2 separate regions of the Homo sapiens genome follow, and region 2 is linked to region 1. Evidence: promoter capture Hi-C in 16 types of primary human blood cells and fetal thymus (Javierre and others, 2016). All regions are on one chromosome and are shown on one strand. The core of a region is centred on a gene start or on the middle of the fragment in contact, and the rest is flanking DNA. Distances in the headings are between cores, read along the strand shown. Region 1 holds the start of EEIG2 (EEIG family member 2). Region 2 has its middle 53 kb from the start of EEIG2.

What was found. The method cuts DNA at HindIII sites, captures the fragments that hold promoters and counts their contacts. A CHiCAGO score of 5 or more calls a contact.
Region 2: a fragment that was not itself captured here is called in contact with the fragment with the promoter of EEIG2 in region 1 in 1 of 17 cell types (monocytes); the score reaches 6.1 in monocytes.

What each region holds. Positions count from the first base shown.
Region 1 is chr1:108,558,350-108,562,662 of GRCh38, forward strand. It overlaps EEIG2 (EEIG family member 2), which reads left to right and starts at 1,751. Exons shown (of 11, transcript NM_001010883.3): 1 at 1,751-2,216. The coding sequence starts at 2,080. RefSeq lists a silencer at 1,412-1,951 and enhancers at 2,342-2,441, 2,905-2,954. The HindIII fragment of the contact is 6,399 bases long and covers 1,526-4,313 here.
Region 2 is chr1:108,505,219-108,509,618 of GRCh38, forward strand. It overlaps the pseudogene RPL7L1P21. Among named protein-coding and RNA genes, the nearest start is that of EEIG2, 53 kb to the right of the region's middle. The HindIII fragment of the contact is 8,656 bases long and covers 1-4,400 here.

The sequences.
Region 1 (4,313 bases), core at 501-3,000:
CCGTCTGGGCTTCCAGGCCATCTCTTTCTTCATCTCCTTTTTCTCTTGACTGCTTGTTCTTAGGCACCTTCACGATCTCCTCTTTGCCTACCCTTTAAATATTCTTCAGAGTAACTCATCCTTATCCACCTTTTGGGCTTCAGCCATCAGCGATTACCTCAATTCCCAAATGTATATTTTCAATTGCCAATGCATTTTTATGAGCTAAGGCTGCCTCTCTCTCCCTAGATGTACTGCAAGCAGATCCCATAAAGACTCATTATCTCTTCCATTCCCAACCTGCCCTCCTCTTGCTTTCAATGTTCAGTCAATGAAATTAACATTCATCCAGTGCTCTAAATGACAAATCTCAAAGTCCCCAAATGCATCTCACTGTCTTTGCCCCCTGTCCTGCAGGGTAAGAAGCTTTATCCATTACCAAATCCCCACCCCCGAACCTGCCTCTGAATCTTTTTTTTTTTTTAATTTATTTCTCCTAGAACAACTTACCCCACTTTGTCCCAAATCATTTTCATCCTTTGAAATTCAGAAAACTGATTAACTTCAATTAATTGCTTCTCTGAGTTCTACATAGCTTGGTGCTAGGTTGTGTTTTTTTAATGACCTGTCTAAACATGTCTTCCTCACTAGATTGTAAAATTCTTGAGGGCAGTTATTGGCTTTTGGTTATGGGGTCTAGCCGATGATTGACATTTTAAGCAATTTTTTTATATGAATGAATGAGTAAACGAGTAAACTGAGAAAGAAAATATTTTCAATTAAACCCTTTCAGAATTACTGTGGCAGAATCTGAGTGAAAATGACAATAACTCAGTTTAAAAACATGAACATCACGTAACCAACTTTGTAACATTCATTGTAACAATACATGCATGATTACAGAAGGCAGGTAATTGTTATTCCCCTAGGGAGATTTTTTTTTAAGCCTGCTCTGAAGATTTTGTTTTGTTTTTAAGACAGGGGCTTGTTCTGTTGCCCAGGCTAGAGTGCAGTGGCGCGATCTCCGATCATTGCAAGCTCCGCTTCCCCGGCTCAGGCTAACCTCCCTCCTCAGCCTCCCGAGTAGCTGGGATTACAGCGTAGCCATGCCAGACTGCCTGCAGAATTTGATTTTAAGCATTTCAGTTCTCAGTATAGACAGACAAATTTTTAAAGGGAGGGTATTATTTTAACTGCTTCTTTGCTCTTTTATCTTTTGTCCTGGGTGACAGGAACTAGATAAGCTATACCCCAGAGAAAGCGCCTGCAGCAGTACGGTGCCTGGGCCCTTGATAGTCCCTCAGCACATCATTTTCCTTTTTCCTACCTTATCTTCCTTTTATATTTGAAGGCTCGTGAATTTAGAGTACCTAACGGAAATTTTAGTTTTAGGATTTCAATTTGACCAAAACAACGCTGAGATTTTAATTGCCTCTATTAACCCATGGCTCTCAAACCCAAAGGAAAGAAACCACTGGAGGGGGTGGGGGAGAAAGGAGGCGGTGCAAAAACTGAAAAGAAAGGCGGAGAGGAAGCGGTAGAAGGAAGCTTTCTCTGTCGGGTTTGTCTTTTTTTAACCCCAGAAAGGCGTGACGTGCTAACTGCCGTCGCGGGTTAGAGTCCGCGGCCAAGCCCGCGCCCGCCCACAAAGTCCCCGCCCTCCCTCCGGCTTCCGCCCCGCCGTGCGCTGCAGGCCGCGGCCGCTGGGGGCGCCCCCGACCCCCGAGGCGCTGAGGCGGCGGTTCCTCGAGCCTCGCCTCTCCCGACTCCCAGACGGGCGGCAGCGGCGGCGGAGGCGGCGGCGGCGGCGGCGGCGAGCTGAGCACCAAAAGGGCGCTCACCTCCCCGGGCGAGCTGCAGCACGACCGCTCCCCGCGGGCGGTCGGGGTCCGCGCCGCAGCTGCCGCCGCGTTCCGGCCCAGGCTGCCGCGAGAGGCGGCGGCAGCGGCCCCGGCCGCGGCCGGCCTGCGGCGCCCCCCGGCCGCGCCCCCGCGCACAGCTCGCGGCCCCGGCCATGGGGCTGGGCTGATCCGGGGCTCGGCCAAGCTGAGGCGGCGGCGCCCGGCCGTGCGCCCAGCTTGCAGGCGCCTGGCTCTCACGATGATGAAGAAGAAGAAGTTTAAGTTTAAGGTGGACTTCGAGCTCGAGGAGCTCTCCTCAGTGCCCTTCGTCAATGGGGTCCTCTTCTGCAAGATGCGGCTGCTGGACGGCGGCAGCTTCACCGCCGAGTCCTCCAGGTAACTCGCCTCCCGCGCCGCCTCGCCCCTTTCTGCTTGGCCAGGGCTTGTTGGATGGGCAGCATCTCTCCTTGGCCCATTTGCTCGCCTTTCCCTAGGGACCGCTCTAAAATCAGTCGAATTTATTGATCTGCAAAGTGCTTTGCAAATGGGTTCTTCTCAGCTGGCCTTGGTTCCTGCGCTCCTGACTCCAGATGGTGCCTGGTATCTGCTCTTCCCTCCCAAATCCTCTAGGAATGGGAGCAATGGCCAGAGAGGGAGGATGCTTCTGTTTTCTCTTAAGACATTTCCATATTTGTGAAATGCAAAGTAGAACTTGAGCTGTTAAAAACTAAAATAACCCAAACTGCAGGAGTTCCAAGAGCCCAGCTCTGAACAGAAACCTGTGCTTAGCACAATTCCTTCTCCCTTGTAGATTACAAGGGGACTTGGCCACCCACTCTGAGGCTGGGGTAGGCCTGGCCAGGCTTGACTTGAGTCAAGTGCTCCTGGCAGACGAGACAACGGTCTGTGCCTCATCAGAGAGCGGCGTCTCCAGTTAGGCGCTAATGCTGGATGAATTAGTCTTGAAGTGGCCACTAGTAGGTCTCCTTGTGGGAGGGCTTAGAGCCAGATGGGGAGCCCAGGCCCTGCCCTCATTTTAAAATGAGCCCCTGGGCACTCCCAGAGAGAGGCATTAGCAGGTTACAGAATGAAGCTATTAAATAATAGGTGTGGCATTAATAATAGGTGTGGCAGTGTTTCTTGAGTAATTTCAGAGCTACTCACAGGTTGACAGATGTACCCTAAGGTGCTTTCTTTAAAATATATACATAGAGAGAGAAAACAATTTTTTAAATGAACTTTTGAGTTCCTGAGATCAAGAAGGGTTAAAAGTTAATGTTATTTTGCCCATATATACTGGTCTTAGGCTTTATTTCTGCCCTAAAAATATTCTACTTAAAAAAAATTCCGTCATCCCATTTATAGTATAAAGGAAATAATGTCACTGGATTGTGGAATTGGGGCTAGAAACTTGTCTTTGGGGCAATATTGAAGCCTATGGAAGCCAGAAAATGTCTAGTTGGCTAAACCAAAGGATATATGAAATTAATAGTTTGCCGAAGACAGTTTTTAAAATTAAACTGTGGTGACACATCAGTGGATATTCAGCTAAGTATTTTAAACACCTGTAAGAGAAGAATGTAACCTATTTTGGTGCAAAAAAAATATTGGACCATCTCTTACTTGTTGAAAAGCCTAAGCCGATTCGTGAAGGTCCTGTTGGTGCAGGTGACAGTCTTGCCCTGAGGCCTAGACTGTTTTGCTGCAGGGTGCCACCCCCGACGCCAGGCAGTTAGACTGGCGCTCCTGGGCCAGTGGTGACACCTGGTGGTCAGGGCACTTGTCTACGGGGCTTCCTTCCTACCTCAGTTATGTTTATTTGGCTTACTTCCCACAAGTCACTTATTCTTTCGTTGTAGGCAGTCATTTATTCAGCAAATATGTGTTGGCTTCTAAATATATTATCTTATTTAATTCTCATAGCAAGTCTATAAGGTAGGGGTTCCATTTCGTAGATAAATAAACTGAGGCTCAGAAAGCATAACTAACTTTCCTAAGGTCCCCTCAGCTGGTAAGTGCGATGCCAAGATTCTGATCAGGTCTGTGTAACTTCAAACAGGGTGGTGCCAGATAAAGGAATAAATCGTGTGCCATATATGAAAGTTTCTGAATAGGGAGCTTCCTAATGACTTTAATGAGCAAGGGGTATACTCCGCAAGACTTAGAAATGAAAAAGTTGAGTATCTTGGGTTAAACTCACCCCTTTTTCTTCCAATTAAAATTTGACTTTGATCAATTTGATTTTAAGTAAGATTAGGAATAGTGCTCTGTGTAGCCAAACCAAAAAGCCATATAGTATGGGGGAAATGACTCACAATAAGGAGCCTGTGCCTTTGACATTAGGTAGAGATAGTTGGTGTAAAGCTAAGAGCAAGGATTTGGAATGCGGTGAGTCTAAGCCTAAACCCCAGTTCCACTGTGGTAAACCTGGATGGGTTACTTAGAGTCCCAAAACTTCTGTATGTAAAATAGAAACCATCACTGACATGTGGT
Region 2 (4,400 bases), core at 186-2,685, 53 kb before region 1:
CAAAGATCATCATAGCTCCCTCTCTTACTTCCTCCTTATCTCTACTCAAATGTCACTTTCAAGAATTCCCTACTCACCACAGTTAAATTGCATTTCCCCAACACACACACACACACACACACACACACACACACACACACACGAGTCTCCCTCCTCTGCTTCATTTCCCCTTAGCACTTTTCATTATCTAACATAGCTTAATTATTTATCTAGTTTATTGTTTTTCTCCTCTTGTTTATGGTGAGCTCTATGAGAGCAAGGATTTTGGCCTATTTCCTTCACTACTGCATCCTTAGCACCTAGATGAATGACAGGCATATCACAGACACTCAATAAATATTTGTTAGTAAATAAATAAATCCACTTTTCATCACCACCTCTTGTGCTCTACACTCAGAGGTTGAAATATTGAGTCTTATTCAAGGACTCCCTGTCTTGAGTTGTTGGAACCCTTTTCTCCCAATCAGTCATCTCCTGTCTCTATAACAGATCCAACATGTCCTTCTCTGGTGACTACTTCTCAGATCTCTCCTATCCACCAAAAGATAATAAAAATAAAATTTAAAAAGACTTGTCCTCTCCTTCTCATTTAAATTTCTCTTAAACCACATCCCCACATTAACCATTTCTCTTAAACCACAGTCCCCACATCCTCACCCTCACCCACTCAACAGCCTTATGCAACCTGACTTAACCCTTTACCACACTACTCAAACTCCTTTCACTGACATCCCCGGAAATCTCCCAAACGCCAGATCCAATGGATATTTTTCAATAATGTTATTGCTGCTCTTTTCTGCTGAAAAAAGGAAGGATCTAAAAAATGAAGACACATAAAATGTTCAAGAAATAGAGGATGAAACATCATAAATACATCAATTCTCCCCAATATTAAGCTATTAATTCAATAAATTGCAATCAAAATTCCAAAAATGATATATATATATATGTGCATGTGTATGCACATGTATATAACAAAACAATCTGATTCTAAAATTCATATAGAAGAGGAAAGGGTCAAAAATAGCATTGACACTATTGGAGATGAATGTAAGTCCAGATGTCGAGATGTATTATACAGTGATAGTAATTAAGACATGCGGTATTGATACACAGTAGACAACAACTAATATAACAGGAAAAGGAAACCAGAAACACACCCATACACAGATGGAAATTTAATATATGACTAGAGGTAAGCATTTCAAATCTGTAGGAAAAGGATGGGACTAACCAATAAATGGTGATAGGACAATTGACTATACAGAAAAAAAAAGAAATTGAATCCCTATTTCACACCATACACAAACATCAATTACAGGTGAATTAAAGAACTAAATATGAAATATCTAAATATTTAAATAAGATATTGATGAATATCTTCATGCCCCAGGGTAAGGAAGAATTTCTCAATATGTCAAAAGCACAACCATAAAAGAAAAAGAGACAAATATAACTGCATTAAAATTTAAAATGTCTGCACAACAAAAAAACACCAAAAATTTGTTTTAAATAAGCAACAAGCTGGGAAAAGATATTCATATTGCATAATGCCAACATAGGATTAATATCCAGAATTTAGAAAGAACACCTACAAGCCATTAAGAAAAAGACAACCAATCTCGCTGAAAAATTGACAAAAGGAATAAACAGGTAATTCACAAAAAAAATCCAAATGACCAGCAAATATATGAAGAGATAGTTTTACTAGTAATAAGGAATATAATTAATTACATTTAGTTACATTAAAAATAATGAGATAATATTTCTGACCCATAGGTTTGGAAAATATTAAAATATTAGAATACTACGGTATCAAGTGTTGGAATGGAAATACATTTCTGGTAGGAATCTAAGGTGGTACAACTACTTTGGAGAGCAATTTGGAATATTTAATTAAAGTTAAATATCTGTAAAGCCTATGACCAAACAATTCCACCGCAAGTAATACACAAGGAGATGCACACAAGAATATCCATTGCAGCTTTATATTATATTAGCAACAAAAGAAATTTTTAACCTAAATAACCACCATCAGAATTCATAAGTAAACTGAGTTATATTTATTAAATGGAACCATACAGTGGTTAAAATAATTGAACTAGAGCTATATGCATTGACATAAATAAATCTCCAAAAATTGAAGGATTAGAAAATAGTCATAAAAAAATCCTGTATGTCACCATTTAAAGGCTTAAGACATAAGAAACAATATCCTATATTTTAACAGTATATGTATAGTAAAATGTATGCAAATATAAAAGTCTATATGAGAATAATAAGTTCAGAATAGTAGTTACTTCTGGCAGGAATGGAGGAAATGGGTTTAGAGAATAATACATTGAAAATGTTTGCTGCCTGTAATTTTGTTTTTAAAAATCTGAATCAAATATGTAAAATGTTAAATATGACAAACACAGTGGTAGGTATGGTTTTTGGTTATATTATTCTCTTTATTGTTCTGTATAAAATAGTTCATAATAAGTTAGCCTTATTTCAGGAATGTTTAACATGACAAAATCTATTACTATAATTCATTATATAAATAGGTCAAATGACACATTATACAGTTTAATAAAATTCAGCACTCTCCTGATAAGATACTTTTCTTTGTTGTTCTTCTATATGTTCCTGTCATAATCCTTGCCACATTGCAACTGTCTGTTCACTGTTAGCACATGTGCGTGTACACACACACACACACACACACACACACACAGTGGACTGTCAGCTCTGTAAGGACAGGCACAAGGGCCAGGCTACCACTGCATCCTCGTTAGCTAGTACATGCCCAGCAAAAAGGATCAAACTTGATAAATATAAAATGACATAATCTTATAAAAAGCAATAAATCTATACACTAAAATGATACCAGGTTAACATTTGGGTGATTGGATTATGGTGACATTGGGGAAGTTACTTAACCTCACTTCTCAACAATTTCCTCTTCTGTGAAAAATAATAGACTTGGTCTCTAAAGTCTTGTGAGGATTAAATGAGATAATGTATGTAATGTTCTTAGAAGAGTGCTAGCAGACAGATGTTCAATAATGAAAAGCCATTATTCATATTTTTCTAACATTTCCATAGTTATCACTTTTATCATTAAAAAGGGTTTAGAGCTAATAAAATTAATAATAATAAAAATTAAGTTTAATATATACATACATATATGAGAGCTGACCTTTCAAGAATCTTCTCTGCCTCTTTTTTAGGAATATTTATACCTGTTAACTTGAGAGCATCGATAAATTTCTGAAGTATCCATCACTCCTTTAAAGGAATAAAGAAAATAAGGATCAACTGGAAAGTTTGAAAAGATACACAAGCAAATATTATTTAGTGCATTATTGTCCTCAGAGCCACTCAGGCAAAGAATGCACTTTTAGCAAAAAAAAAAAAAAAAAGAAAAGGGAGAAATGGCCTCAGGTGTAAGCAACTGGAATCGTTCCTACATGATTTCCGGTGGCAGAAACACAACAAGGTGCCTCTCAGATGACTAGAAGTGAAATCTCATGCCTTGGAATTGCCAGATAAACATTCCTTGGCCTTTGTTGTACACATCCTAAAAATTAATAGCATGAGTTTACTGGTGCAGAGAACCACTGCAAGAAGAAAATGGTTCACCTAAAGAAAATTTTTAGTAGTGTCTTTGTAAAAGCCACCCCCAGAGCCTAAAACTGCTGTACATATTGGAATCTTATATGACCTGGGGATTTCTAAATCTGAAGCCCATCTGGGAACTCATCTTGAAACACGGACAAGCCAAGGTCAAGAATAAGACCATCTCTCCAACAGACAACACAGTGAGGAGCACCTGAGGAAGTTTGCTGTCATTTGCTTAGAAGACCTCATTCATGATGTTGCCTTCCCAAGGAAGTATTTCCAGATCTCATGGTTCCTGCACCCTTTCCAGCTCTTGGTGGCCCATCACGCTATCAAGAATAGAGTGAGGTTCTTCCATGAGATGGGCTCGCCTGGCTGTCAGAGTGAATGCAGCAATCAGCTCAACCACCAGCTGAACTAGACCCAGAATACCTGAATGCATGGTGCATTGGAAGCATGTGTTTCTGTTTTTTTGAACTGTTATCAAAAATAACAATTGGAATTGTATCTTGAGGGAAGAGTATCTCCTGCTTTATCTTCAAAAACTGGAAGAGAAGAGTCAATGAAAATACAGCAAGTTATGTACATGGCAGGCACCTCTCATCACAGTCCAGCTCCAAGGAAACATTCCAGTGTTTTCTACATTGGCTGCTGCCTCCTCTGAAATAATCACGTGTCATGAAAGGAGTCCTGCTTTGTCACATTTGCACGAGTCCCCCTAAGACTCCTGTAGCAGTGGACCAAGCCCAAGGACATAATTGAATCTGAGAGTTCCTAGGGCCTTGTTCTGAAAA